Regions from separate parts of the Homo sapiens genome. Here region 1 is linked to region 2. The links are contacts of gene promoters, found by promoter capture Hi-C in human tissues and cell types (Jung and others, 2019). All regions are on one chromosome and are shown on one strand. The core of a region is centred on a gene start or on the middle of the fragment in contact, and the rest is flanking DNA. Distances in the headings are between cores, read along the strand shown. Region 1 has its middle 27 kb from the start of FCHO2-DT. Region 2 holds the start of TMEM171 (transmembrane protein 171).

Region 1 (7,376 bases), core at 4,060-6,559, 190 kb before region 2:
TAAGCTGGGTGCAGTGGCTCACACCTGTAATCCCAGCACTTTGGGAGGCTGAGGTGGGCGGATCACTTGAGGTTAGGAGTTCGAGACCAGCCTGGCAAACATGGTGAAATCCCATCTCTACTAAAATACAAAAAAAAATTAGCCAGGTGTGGTGGCGCATGCTTGTAAATTCCAGCTACTTGGGAGGCTGATACAGGAGAATCGCTTGAATCCAAGGTGGAGGTTGCAGTGAGCCAAGATTGTGCCACTGCACTCCAGCCTGGGCAACAGAGTGAGACTTCATCTCAAAAAAAAAAAAAAAAAGATTTAAAAATAAATGAAATAAAGGAAGATTGTGAGAGGTGACAACGTGCTAGCAGCCCTCCCTCACTCTCGGCGCCTCCTCGGCCTCTGCCTCCACTCTGGCCGTGCTTGAGGAGCCCTTCAGCCCGCCACTGCACTGTGGGAGCCCCTCTCTGGGCTGCCTGAGGCCGGAGCCGGCTCCCTCTGCTTGTGGGGAGGTGTGGAGGGAGAGGCATGGGCGGGAACTAGGGCTGTGTGTGGCACTCGCGGGCCAGTGCGAGTTCTGGGTGGGCACAGGGTCCACGGGCCTCACACTCAGAGTGGCCAGCCAGCACTGCTGGCCCTGGGCAGTGAGGGGCTTAGTACCCGGGCCAGCAGATGTGGAGGGTGCGCTGGGTCCCCCAGCACTGCTGGCCGGCCTGCGCTGTGCTCGAATTCTCACCGGGCCTCAGCCACCTCCCCGTGGGGCAGGGCTCAGGACCTGCAGCCCACCATGCCGGAGCCTCCCCACCCCCAGTGGGCTCCCACGTGGCCTGAGCCTCCTCGACGGGTGCCGCCCCCTGCTCCGCGGCGCCCAGTCCCATTGACTGCCCAAGGGCTGAGTGTGGGTGCGCCGTGTGGGATTGATGGGCAGCTCTGCCCACGGCCCCGGCGTGGGATCCACTAGGCCAAGCCAGCTGGGCTCCTGAGTCCTGTGGGGACTTGGAGAACTTTTATGTCTAACTGGAGGATTGTATACGCACCCATCAGTACTCTGTGTGTAGCTCAGGGTTTGTGGATGCACCAATCAGCACTCTGTATCTAGCTAATCTGGTGGGGACTTGGTGAACTTTTATGTCTAGCTAGAGGATTGTAAATGCATCAATCAGCACTCTGTGTCTAGCTCAGGGATTGTATATGCACCAATCAGCACTCTGTCAAAATGGAGCAATCAGCTCTCTGTAAAACGGACCAATCAGCTCTCTCTGTAAAATGGACCAATCAGCAGGATGTGGGTGGGGCCAGATAAAGGAATAAAAGCAGACTGCCCAAGCCAGCAGTGGCAACCTGCTCAGGTCCCCTTCCACGCTGTGGAAACTTTGTTCTTTCGCTCTTCGCAATAAATCTTGCTGCTGCTCATTCTTTGAGTCCGCACTGCCTTTAAGGGCTGTAACACCGTGAGGGTCTGCAGCTTCACTCCTGAAGGCAGCAAGACCATGAACCCACCAGAAGGAACGAACAACTCCAGATGCACTGTCTTTAAGAGCTGTAACACTCACCGCAAAGGTCTGCAGCTTCACTCCTGAATCAGCGAGACCACGAACCCACCAGAAGGAAGAAACTCTGGACACATCTGAACATCTGAAGGAACAAACTCCGGACACACCATCTTTAAGAACTATAACACTCACCACAAGCGTCTGCAGCTTCATTCTTGAAGTCAGCGAGACCAATTTCAGACACATTTTGGTGACCCAGATGGGACTATCACCTATCGCCAAGTGGTGAGACTATTGCCTATCGCTGAGCAGTGAGACTGTTGCCTATTGCCAAGCAGTGAGACTATTGCCTATCACCAAGCAGTGAGAACCATTGGACCCCTTTTGCTTGCTATTCTGTCCTATTTTTCCTTAGAATTCGGGGGCTAAATACTGGGCACCTGTCGGCCAGTTAAAAGTGACTAGTGCGGCCGCCAGACTAAAGACACAGGTGTCAGGCTTTCTGGGAGAGGGCTAACAACCCCCAACTCTTCAGAGTTGGGAGCATTGGTTTGCCTGGAACCAGCTTCTCCTTTTCCTGTACTTCTGGGCTGAGCCAAGGGTTGACAGAGAGGAAAGCCATTCAGCTCCAGGGTCCCGAAAACAAGTTGATTGACCCTGCAGCCATGAGCAGAACTCTCAAAGTCATGTCGCCCAAGCGAGACTCGCCCATCTATTCTATCTACCCTGACCCTTGCCCCCTGGGTCCTAATGCCTGCCAAACAAACCTCCTCTCGCCTCTCTTCTCCGAGGCTAGTCCCACTTCTAAACATCACTCCCTGTCTCTGGTGCTTTTCTAGTTTCTCCTATAAGAATGACTGCTAGTATAAACTCTAGGACTCTGTTCCCTTCTTTAGGCACCTAGGCTCACCAATCAGAAAGACATAATTTTTGCCCAAAGCCCCATCATAGTGGGGACTACCTGGAATTGTAGGATCCCTCCTCAGACTAGCAGGCCTAACAAAAGCTATTCCTGAAGCTAGGATATGGGGAGCCTCAGAAATTGTGTCCTTTCTATTCATATAAGTGAGGACAAAAGGTGTCACTCTTCCAACCCTGGAGAATCTCTTCCCTCCCTCAGGGTATGGCCCTCCATTTCATTTTTGGGGCATAACATCTTTATAGGACATGGGTAAGGTCCCAATACTAATAGGAGAATGCTTAGGACTCTAACAGGTTTTTGAGAATGTGTCGGTAAGGGGCCACTAAATCCGATTTTTCTGGGTCCTCCTTGTGGACTAGGAGGACAGGCAAGGGTGCAGGTTTTCGAGAATGCATCAATAAGGGCCACTAAATCCGACCTTCCTCAGTCCTCCTTGTGGCCTGGGAGGAAAACTAGCATTTCTGCTGCTACATTGGTGAGTGCAACTATTCCGATCAGCAGAGTCCAGGGACTTTTGCGGGTTCTTGGGCAGGGGTTGTTTCTGCTGCTGCGTTGGTGAGTGCAACTGTTCTGATCAGCAGGGTCCAGGGACTGTTGTGGGTTCTTGGGCAGGGGGAGAAACAAAACAAACCAAAACCGTGGGTGGTTTTGTCTTTCAGATAGGAAACAGGCATCAACAGGCTCACCCTTGAAATGCATCCTAAGCCATTGGGACCAATTTGACCCACAAACCCTGAAAAAGAGGTGGCTCATTTTTTTCTGCACTATGGCTTGGCCCCAATATTCTCTCTCTGATGGGGAAAAATGGCCACCTGAGGGAAGTATAAATTATAATACTATTCTGCAGCTTGACCTTTTCTGTAAGAGAGAAGGCAAATCGAGTGAAATACCTTATGTCCAAGCTTTCTTTTCATTGAAAGAGAATACACAACTATGCAAAGCTTGCAATTTACATCCCACAGGAGGACCTCTCAGCTTACCCCCATATCCTAGCATCCCTATAGCTACCCTTCCTATTAATGATAATCTTCTTCTAATCTTCCCTGCCCAGAAGGAAATAAGCAAAGAAATCTCCAAAGGACCACAAAAACCCCCAGGCTATCGGTTATGTCCCCTTCAAGCTGTAGGGGGAGGGGAATTTGGCCCAACCCGGGTACATGTCCCCTTCTCCCTGTCTGATTTAAAGCAGATCAAAGCAGACTGGGGAAGTTTTCAGATGATCCTGATAGGTACATAGATGTCCTACAGGGTCTAGGGCAAACCTTTGATCTCACTTGGAGAGATGTCATGCTACTGTTAGATCAAACCCTGGCCTTTAATGAAAAGAATGCAGCTTTAGCTGCAGCCCGAGAGTTTAAAGATACTTGGTATCTTAGTCAAGTGAATGATAGAATGACAGCCGAAGAAAGGGATAAATTCCCTTCTGGTCAGCAAGCTGTCCCCAGTATGGATCCCCACTGGGACCTTGACTCAGATTATGGGGACTGGAGTCATAAATATCTGTTGACCTGTGTTCTTGAAGGACTAAGGAGAATTAGGAAAAAGCCCATGAATTATTCAATGATGTCCACCATAACTCAAGGAAAGGAAGAAAATCCTGCCTTCCTTGAGCAGCTATGGGAGGCCTTAAGGAAATATATTCCCCTGTCACCCAAATCACTCGAGGGTCAATTGATTCTAAAAGATAAGTTTATTACCCAGTCAGCTGCAGATATCAGGGGAAAGCTCCAAAAGCAATCCCTGGTCCCTGAACAAAATTTGGAGGCATTACTAAACCTGGCAACCTCAGTGTTCTATAATAGGGACCAAGAGGAACAAGCCCAAAAGGAAAAGCAAGATCAGAAAAAGGCTGCAGCCTTAGTCTTGGCCCCCACACAAGCAAGCCTTGGTGGTTCAGAGAGGACAGAGGGTGGAGCAGGCCAATCACCCAGTAGGACTTGTTACCAGTGTGGTTTGCAAGGACACTTTTAAAAAGATTGTCCAGTGAGAAACAAGCCGCCCCCTCGTCCATGTCTGCTATGCCAAGGCAATCACTGGAAGGTGCACTGCCCCAGAGGACAAAGGTTCTCTGGGTCAGAAGCCCCCAACCAGATGATCCAGCAACAGGATTGAGGGTGCCTGGGGCAAGTGCCAGCTCATGTCATCACCCTCACTGAGCCCCGGGTACATTTAACCATTGACGGCCAGGAAATTGACTTCCTCCTGGACACTGGCGCGGCCTTCTCAGTGCTAATCTCCTGTCCTGGACGACTGTCCTCAAGGTCCATTACCATCCGAGGAATCCTGGGACAGCCTGTAACCAGGTATTTCTCCCATCTCCTCAGTTGTAATCGGGACACTTTGCTCTTTTCACATGCCTTTCTTGTTATGCCTGAAAGTCCCACACCCTTATTAGGGAGGGATATATTAGCCAAAGCTGGAGCTATTATCTACATGAATATGGGGAACAAGTTACCCATTTGTTGTCCCCTACTTGAGGAGGGAATCAACCCTGAAGTCTGGGTATTGGAAGGACAATTTGGAAGGGCAAAAAATGCCTGCCCAGTCCAAATCAGGCTAGAAGACCCCACCACTTTTCCTTATTAAAGGCAATATCCCTTAAGGCCTGAAGCTCATAAAGGATTACAGGATATTGTTAAACATTTAAAAGCTCAAGGTTTAGCAAGGAAATGCAGCAGTCCCTGCAACACCCTAATTCTAGGAGTACAAAAACCGAATGTTCAGTGGAGACTAGTGCAAGATCTTAGACTCATCAATGAGGTAGTAATTCCTTTATATCCAGTTGTACCCAACTCCTATACCCTCCTCTCTCAAATACCAGAGGAAGCAGAATGGTTCACAGTGCTGGACCTCAAGGTTGCCTTCTTCTGTATTCCCCTGCACTTTGACTCCCAGTTTCTCTTTGCCTTTGAGGATCCCACAGACCACACATCCCAACTTACGTGGACAGTCTTGCCCCAAGGGTTCAGGGATAGCCCTCTCCTGTTTGGTCAGGCACTGGCCAAAGATCTAGGCCACTTCTCAAGTCCAGGCCCTCTGTTCCTTCAGTATGTGGATGATTTGCTTTTGGCTACCAGTTCAGAAGCCTCATGCCAGCAGGCTACTCTAGATCTCTTGAACTTTCTAGCTAATCAAGGGTACAAGGTATCTAGGTCGAAGGCCCAGCTTTGCCTACAGCAGGTCAAATATCTAGGCCCAGAGGGACCAAGGCCCTCAGCAAGGAATGAATACAGCCTATACTGGCTTATCCTTGCCCGAAGACATTAAAACAGTTGTGGGGCTTCCTTGGAATCACCGGCTTTTGCTGACTATGGATCCCCTGATACAGTGAGAAAGCCAGGCCCCTCTATACTCTAATCAAGGAAACCCAGAGGACAAATACACATCTAGTAGAATGGGAACCAGAGGCAGAAACAGCCTTCAAAACCTAACAGCAGGCCCTAGTACAAGCTCCAGCCTTAAGCCTTCCCACAGGACAAAACTTATCTTTATACGTCACAGAGAGAGCAGAGATAGCTCTTGGAGTCCTTACCCAGACTCGTGGGAAAACCCCACACCAGTGGCATACCTAAGTAAGGAAACTGATGTAGTAGCGAAAGGCTGGCCTCACTGTTTACGGGTAGTTGCGGCGGTGGCTGTCTTAGTGTCAGAGGCTATCAAAATAATAAAAGGAAAGGATCTCACTGTCTGGACTACTCATGATGTAAATGGCATACTAGGTGCCAAAGGAAGTTTACGGCTATCAGACAACTGCCTACTTAGATACCAGGTGCTACTCCTTGAGGGACTGGTGCTTCAAAAATGTACATGCATGGCCCTCAACCCTGCCACTTTTCTCCCAAAAGATGGGGATCCAATCGAGCATGGCTGCCAACAAATTATAGTCCAGACTTATGCTGCCCGAGATGATCTCTTAGAAGTCTCCTTAGCTAATCCTGACTTTAACCTATATACCAATGGAAGTTCATTTGTGGAGAATGGGATACGAAGGGCCGGTTATGCCATAGTTAGTGATGTAACCATACTTGAAAGTAAGCCTCTTCCCCCAGGGACCAGTGCCCAGTTACCAGAACTAGTGGCATTTACCCGAGCTTTAGAACTGGGAAAGGGAAAAAGAATAAATGTGTATACAGATAGCAAGTATGCTTATCTAATCCTACATGCCCATGCTGCAATATGGAAAGAAAGGGAATTCCTAACCTCTGGGGGAACCCCTATTAAATACCACAAGGAAATTATAGAGTTATTGCACACAGTGCAAAAACCCAAGGAGGTGACAGTCTTACATTGCCAAAGCCACCAGAAAGGTGAAGGAGAAAAGGCAGGAGGAAACTGTCAGGCAGAAGCTGAGGCCAAAATTGCTGCCAGGCAGAACCTCCCACTAGAAATACCTACGGAAGGACCCTCGGTATGGAACAACCCCCTCCAAGAGATTAAGCCCCAGTATTCCCCAACTGAAGCAGAGTGGTGACTTTCATGGGGGCATAGTTTTCTCCCCTCAGGGTGGTTGGCGACAGAAGAAGGAAAGGTACTTATACCCGAAGCCAGCCAGTGGAAAATACTTAAAACCCTCCACCAAACTTTTCATATGGGTATTGAAAACACTCATCAAATGGCCAAATCCCTATTAACAGGGCCAAATCTCCTCCAAACCATCCAACAAGTAGTCAAAGCCTGTGAGATGTGCCAAAGGAATAATCCCTTGGTCCATCATAAGGCCCCTTTGGGGGAGCAAAGAATAGGTCACTATCCTGGAGAGGACTGGCAGTTAGACTTCACCCATATGCCTAAGTCAAAGGGATTTCAATACTTGTTGGTCTGTGTTGATACCTTTACAAATTGGATAGAAGCTTTCCCCTGCAAGACAGAGAAGGCTCAGGAAGTGACTAAAGTCCTAATTCATGAAATAATTCCTAGATTTGGGCTTCCCCAAAGCTTACAGAGTGACAATGGTCCAGCTTTTAAAGCCACGA
Region 2 (7,581 bases), core at 4,098-6,597:
GTCTCCATGGATTCATCAGCTCAAGCTTCCTGAGCCACAGGTGGAAGATGAGATGAGTGTAGCTAGACGAGTAGTAGTTAAGGAGAAATCCATTTATTGATCACTCTCCATGTGCCAGATATTTACTCTTCAAGCAAGACATCCTTCGAGGTAGGTCTGGTTATTCTCACATTACAGATGAGAACACTAAGATACAGAAAAGATGTTTACTTGCCCCAGGTCACACAGCTGGTAAGTGACAAAGCCAGGATCTAAACTCAGTTTGATTCATCCCCTTTCTGCATGCTGGGGAGACAGTGCATTCTTTGGGATCCAGTCAGCAGTGAATGAGTGAAGAGACAGTACTTTTCCAAAGAACTCTTAATATCAACACGTTGGTCTCCTCTAGCCACAGACCAGATGCTGTGGCCACTGTTGAGGGGGGGTCTTTCTCCCTTGGCAGTGCAGAGGCCTCTTCAGAAAAGCCAAGTGTGCTCCCAGCAAATTCTTACTTTCGCTGAAACAACTGCTTGCATTCTACACCCTTGGCTAAGGCTAGCAGCACTCAGGCTGAGCTGTTATTAACTGTGCAAAATCAACAGCACCATCTCACGCCATAAAATGACTCTGCAAAAGATTAGCCTTTGCACTAGGATCAGCTAAGGGAGCCAGTCTAAACCCTTAATTCAAGCTTTCCAAATTAGTCAGCCTCTACTTGCACTCCTGATATGTCTCTGAAGCCCCTGGGTCTAAGTCCGACCTGGGGGTTAGGGAGGAGGAAAATATCCCAGGGACTTTGGTACACCCTTTTCAGGGTTATACAGCTGGATGGGGCCCAGGTTGGTTCAGAGGAGTCATTGGGAGTCCTGGAAATATGTGTTGAAACATGGACCCAAGACTGAGCGCTCAAGAATAAATTCCTATAAACCAAGCCCAGCTGGGGCTCAGAAAACATCAGAAATTGGAAGCAGGGAAATGTGTGCTTCTGGGTGCTAAGATTAATTTGGGGCAGAATTAGAAAGAGACCAAAAGAGAAAAGAGACCTAGAAGTTGGCAGACTTGATTAGCTGATTGTCTTTCTGCCATCTTATGAATTCTGAAAAATGGTGCCACTGAATTCTGCAGGTCAATCCACTTGCCCTGAGTTTCTTCTCAGGGTTGGCAGTGCCCTGGGAAGAAATACGTGGCCTGTCTTGTTGAAGTGAAAGATATGTGTTCCTTAGGGCACTGTTTTGGGAACAGAGCAGCAGAAGCCCCCTGCTCTGGGTGAAACTCATGCCTCCCAGCCGCACTAGCTGTGCTCTGCACCCCAGAAACATCTGAAAACTGCACTTGGTTGGCACCAGCCCCTCCCTTGCTTTGTGTGTTTAGAACCCTCCAAAGGACTAATTGTTACTCTTCCAGAGAGGGAGCCCAGCCTCCTCAATTTTGTAATGTCACTCACAGACCACAGGAAAGTATTCCTTCCGAATTCCTGAACTCCAAGCCTCCATATTCAATTGCCTACTCAGCTTCTCTACTCGGATGTCTAATGGACAAAATTAACATGTCCCCAAATGGACTCTGAAGCTCCTCCTCTCAAACTTGTCCCACTCTTAGGATTCCCCATCTTGCTCATGCCAGAACCATTCTTCCACTTGCTCAGATCCAAAACCTTGGAATCAAAACCCACATGTGGTTCATGGAAAATCCCATTGACTCTATCTTCAAGATATATCCAAAGTCTCATCCCTTTCATCACCTTCATACACAAGCTACAGACATAACTCCTGGGTTGTTACCACAGCCTCCTAACTGGCCTCTTCCCATCCATCCTGGCTCCTCCTTGGGCTATTCTTACTGCAACAGCCACCAATTTCTTTTTTAAAAGAAATCAGATCACATCACTGTCAAAGCTCATCACATCAGCTCAAAAACCATTCAAAGGCTTCCCACCTACTTAAAGGCCCTGCACAACCTGGTGCCCTTGGCCCTGCACATGCCTTTCCTCTCTGACCTCCTCTCCTACTCTCCCCCTTGCTCACCAACTGCAGCCACCCTGGCCTCTTGCTCTCCTTTGAATATGCTAATATGTGTGTTCCTACCTCAGGGCCTTTGCACCTGTGGTTACTTCTGCCTGAAGCACTCTTCCCTACTTCCCACAAAAAATCACGAACTATGCTTACAAATTCTTACTCTTCCCTACAAGAGGTGGCACCTAATCCCATTCCCCTTGACTTTGTGACTCAATTCTAAGGACCAGAATAAAGAGAAGTGATGGTATGGAAGTGCAGAGCCTCGTCAGAAAAGGCACCACAGCTTCCCCTTTGTTTGCTCTCCCTTGGATCACTCACGTGAGGGGAGGCTGGGTGGAGAAATCCACATAGTGAGGAACTGAGGCCTCCTGCCAATAGCCCTGTGAATGTGCCACCTTGGCAGCAGATCCTCCAGCCCCAGTCCAGCCTTCAGATGACCACAGCCCTGGCCAACTGCTAGACTGCAGCCTCTGAGAGGCTCAGCCAGAAGTACCCAGCTAAGCCACTTGCAGTTTCTGACCCTGATCAGAAACCCTGAGAATACATTTTTGCTGTTTCAAACTTCAAAGTTTTGGGGTAAGTTGTTATGCAATAATAGATCATTGATACACTTGCTTCCTCATTCCCTTCAAGTTTTTGCTGCAATCTCACCTTCTCAGAGATGCCTTCCTTAACTCCCCTATTTAAAATGGGGTGCTCCCCAGTCCCCATCTGTGATTTATTGTTCTCCCTGGCACTCAATCACTTTCTAATTCTCTGTATAACTTACATATTTTATTGCCTTTCTCCTCAATAAAATACAAGTTCCGTGTTTTATTGGTAGTTGGTAAATCTGTGCTGGCTAAATACATGAACACATGCCTCTGCTTTATGCTTCTACAGTCACTGAATTCGAGGTTTTTAATCTTGTTCTGATGCTGTTTTTCTAAGGATTCGGTCTGGCTTTTATCTTTTTCACTACCACACAGGCCAGGGAAGACCACTAGATAGTGACCAGGCCACGCAGCTTCTCTCCTAAGGCTAGGTGGGCTACAAAGATAAGTACCTCAAAGGCTGGTGGGTATGTCTTTCATACATAATCGATGATCAATTTCCAAGGAGTTTAATTTAGTCAAACAGGCTCTCATAGACACAAACAGTGAGAACAGCAGATATACCAAGTGGAGGCTAATCTGATTGTCCTTGGTGCCAGGATATTCAAGTCTGTCATGGGTGGTGAGCCTGCAGTCATGTGGCACCAGAGGGGCAGCTGTATCAACAGGCCCCTTGCAGGCCTGCACATGACATGGCCAGAGATTCAGTTTCAAATAAGGGGGAAGGGAAGAATGAGTAGGGAAAGGACAAGGAAACCCTTTTGCACAATGAAGAGTTGTTCACAGGCCTGTGTCAGAGGGGACAAATCCTATAATGAGGGCCTGAGTTCTTAGAAAGCCAGTGCCTGCTGTTGTACAATCCACTCTTGGGTATCTGCCCATTCGCTGGACATGCTTTGGTGCCCTTCCAGAAGGTGGTATACCTTGACACTTGGACCAGGAAGGATATCTCCACCCCAAACATAGATTACTGCAATGTCCTTGGGACACAGTGCCTGTATTGTTATAATAATCTAAACGTGCTTGGCATCACAAGGCCATGAGGGCGTTTTCTGGGTTCACAGCATGGTGTGTTCTCTGAGTGACAGGTGTGCTGCGGGAGAAACACTGAATGGTCAGCGCATCTGCATCTGGCTCAGGCCTTCTCTGCATGTCAACCAGCTGCAGAGGTTACTTTACCTCTGTCAGCCTGGACCTCAGTTTCCTCAACTGACAAATGACTGTTTTTCTCAGTCTCCTGTCCCCTGCTGCCTCCAACCTTTTCTGAACTGCTGGAGAGATGTAGCAAAGAACCACAAAGCAAGGGGTCGTGAGTGTTGGCATTGTTCATTTCGACAGTAATCAGGGCTGTTAGTTATGGCGGGGATTTACAGAGGTCGGGCACCCTGGCTATGAAAAAGTCCACCTTTGGCCACCCAGGCAAGTGCCCCACCAAATTCCAATGGCAAGAACTTGTCCGTTCTGCCTCCCTGGTGAACCCTAAAGCCCAGGTAACCCCCTCCCCTCTTTACCTCTCTGACTGGTTCTTTAAGTCTCTTCTCACCTCTGATGATTAGCTAAGCCTGCTTCATACTTTACCTTCAGTGAGCATGACCAGGAATCTCTTGTTGTATCAGGTAGGTAAAGTGCTTGCTTGCACATTGAAAAGTTTCATCCATTGGCCTTAACTCTAGATAGGGTTTCAGGCAAGGCAGACAGGAAGCTGAGAAGAGAAGGCAGGGCTGGGAAGTCCCCGTGGCTCAGGGCACCTCTGCGCTTGGGCAGAGAACCCTTGACTCACCTTCCACCGTGCCCTGACCCCTGGTGTGGAAACTAGCACAGTTGGATCCGTATCACGTGTCACGGGGCTGGTTACAAATAGCACAGGGATTGGCAAACTCATCCCGAAACTCCCGGTTCAAGGGCAGGGAAAGTTACCAGTTTAATTCCGGCAGATCATTAGTGGTGGAGAACCAGGAAGGGGGTTCTATCGCAAAGGAGGGCTGTGCGCAGACACGTGGGTGCGGGAGGGGCAGAGCTGGTCCGGCGCGGGGCTTGCCGCGTCTCGGCCTCAGTCTCGGAGCCAGGACCTCAGGCCTGAATGGCTGGGTGTGGAGGGCCCTTGTCTCACATTCTGTAGAGCGCACGTCGTCCCGTGACCTGGTGGCTCCATATTCGATGGGGAGCTCGCAGCGAGTCGCTTCCCTCTGTAACCCCACTCCAGGTCTCCAGAGCAGTAGGAGGGCCACAGGGCTGCTGGGTGTAGTCGCCCCGGACCTCGCGGTGGCCAAGGCCAAGGCGGCCGGGGCACGGTACCCTGTTCGGCCTGGGCCGCAACCACGAAGGAGGCGGTGGAGGCGGGGGCCGGCGCTTCCTCCGCGCCCCCCACGCCGCCGCTCTCTCGCGCCCCTATAGAACTGGGCCTCAGGCCTCGAGGGGGAGCGGGCCTCGGCGGGCGGGGCGCACAGTTCCGCCAGCCGGCGGGGGCATCTCAACTCGCCGGCCCCGCCAGGTGTGCGGGCCAGGCAGCCGTGGAAGGTGCCCATTTCTCCCAGATTCCTCGCGCGCACGGCCACGAGCGCGGAGGCTGCCAAACCCGCCAGCCCTGGGTTCCGAAGCCGCCCCTGGCTCTCCATTCCCTCGCGGGCGCGCCCCGGGCCCCCAGTGGCGGCCAGCTCCCACCGGTCGCTCCTGCACTGCCCTGCCCTGCCCTCCCCGGGCCGCCGCGCCCGCGCAGCACCGCCTCCTTCTCTAAATACTGCCGGGTCCGCCCTCCGCACCAGGACGCGCGGTGGGTAGGGTGCAGGGCGGCCGGCGCAGCCGAGGCCGCGTGCGGAGGCGGACGCCGCGCCCAGCCAGTGCCCACAGCAGCGCGGTCAGCCAGGCGCCGGACCCAGCTTCAGGTAAGCTGCCCCGGCCCGCGCGCCTGCGCCGGCGGCGGCGGGTCGGGCGCTGAGCTGTGCGGCCAGGCTGGGCGCGGGGAGCCGCGGCAGCGCGGAGGCGCTGGGTATCCGAGCCCAACCTGCGTCCCTGCGAGCCCCTCCGGCTGTTGCTTGCGCTCGGGCTCCCTAAAAGCCGCAAACCGATTTCGCACAGAAGGCATTTGCCTCTCGTTTCGTTCCCCAAACGCACCATAGCTTTGGACGTGGAGAGGTGCTGTGAATTTTGGAAATGTCTTTTGGAAAACCAATAGGAGTGTTGGAGAGGGGAGTTTGGCTTTGGGGAGTTTAAGTGTAGGGTGGTGTTTGGAAAAGGTTTCATTGCGAGTGAATGTGGGTGTCTTTGTATCCGTTTGTGAGTGCATCTGTGGGAGAAGGAGAGAGAGAGAGTATTTCCACACTATTATGGATCAGAGGTGAACACTCAGCCAGGTGCTCCGTCCACTAGTCCACGGACAAGAAACTACAGATTCAGTTTTGGGCTTCTATTTACTGGTGTTTGGGAATTTGCCTTAAGACAGTTGAAGCCTTGTGACTCACTGCAAAGTTGACTATACTGGGAATAAATGAATTCCTGATAGGACTTTGCAGCCGAGAATCACCCTTCTCTTTCTTGTCTCCGAAACCGCAAAAGAGATTGCATGATTCAGGAAAAAAATTAAAACAACAACAATAACAAAAAACCAATATATATAGGTTTCAGGACTCTCCATCGTTTCATTCCACTGAGAGTTTTGGAATGTACTCCCTGTAGGATAAATGAGGACTACTGTATACTCAATATGAAATTCTTATTCACTGCAGGATGTTACTGACTTAATAAAAAATGGGAAGATTAAAAAATTAGTGCAATGCTTTGTCTCAGCTTAACTGCATCTGTATATCAAGTTTTTCCAAGTTTGAAATGAAAGCTTTTTTCCCTCCTATATTTCCTTTTTTTCTCCAACTTCCTTCTGATTCTATCATACTTTTTCCTGGAAAAGTTTTTCCCAGTGTAAGATTGCCTGTTTGCTTTCTTTACCTAAACTGACCTTCCCTCAGTGTGATTTTGGTTTGTCAAGATCATCTTGGGCTTAGGGCCTCAGTCTTGAGTTCCTTCATGGGACCATGGATGTGAGCGGCACAAAATATTTTAAAAGTTTTCTTTCCTTGGGCAGGTGAAAATAGTCTTCACGATTTTGGATTGTCTTTGCAATTGCAGGACCTGACTTACGGGGTCCTGGTAAAATATCCCATTCATTGGAGTAAAATAAGATAACGAGATAATTAGGTCAGCTCTGTGTAAGCTAGACAACTCTTTAACAACCACTTGGCATATTTAATATATTATACCCCTGAAGTACAGGGCTTGGGTGATTTTCTGGAAGGTGCTTTCTCACTTGATTCCACTTATACTATTCTTTCAAAGCCAAGTTCCCCCCTTCCACCCATTTTGTGCTTTATAACTAGCAGTTTTATTGGCTGCTTGTTTTTTAACTGAGTCTCAACCTCTTTGTGGAAGTAGGTGACACCATGGAGGAGGGTGAGTGAGAGGCCACACCAGCCTTTGGGTACCTGTCCACTCTGAAAATTGAGCTCCTGTTGACCTGCTGTGCAACACTTTCCAGGGTCATCCCAGATCCAAGCAACTGGGTCACCAGTCTGTGCTTGTTGAGAACCCAAGAACCATTTTGTTTTGTTTTGTTTTGTTTTTGGCAGGGTCTCACTCTGTTGCCCAGGCTGGAGAGTAGTGGCGTGATCTTGGCTCACTGCAACCTCCAGCTCCTGGGCTCAAGCAATCCTCCCACCTCAGCCTACCAAGTAGCTGGGACCACAGGCACCATGCCTGGCTAAAGTTTGTATTTTTAGCAGAGATGGGGTTTTGCTATGTCACCCAGGCTGGTCTCGAACTCCTGAGCTCAAGCAATCTGCCTGCCTCTGCCTCCCAAAGTGCTGGGATTACAGGCGCAAGCCACCACGCCTGGCCTCAAGAACCACATTTTGATAGAATCAACTTAAAAGTCCACCAAACCCACTGTGTTCCTGAACAGACTTCTTATTCTATTGAAATTGCTGAAATTGGGTCTTTTGTAGATG

What was found. The method cuts DNA at HindIII sites, captures the fragments that hold promoters and counts their contacts. A contact is called where the count stands out against the background at its distance.
Region 1: a contact is called between a fragment that was not itself captured here and the fragment with the promoter of TMEM171 in region 2, in 2 of the 25 tissues and cell types used here (mesenchymal stem cells and spleen).

Annotation. Positions count from the first base shown.
Region 1 is chr5:72,924,984-72,932,359 of GRCh38, forward strand. No RefSeq gene overlaps it. Among named protein-coding and RNA genes, the nearest start is that of FCHO2-DT, 27 kb to the right of the region's middle. The HindIII fragment of the contact is 3,971 bases long and covers 3,325-7,295 here.
Region 2 is chr5:73,115,228-73,122,808 of GRCh38, forward strand. It overlaps TMEM171 (transmembrane protein 171), which reads left to right and starts at 5,348. Exons shown (of 4, transcript NM_173490.8): 1 at 5,348-5,469. It overlaps LOC124901001, which reads right to left and starts at 5,264. Exons shown (of 2, transcript XM_047417978.1): 1 at 1-5,264. The coding sequence starts at 5,202. The coding sequence ends at 4,501. RefSeq lists an enhancer at 4,187-4,738. The HindIII fragment of the contact is 7,583 bases long and covers 348-7,581 here.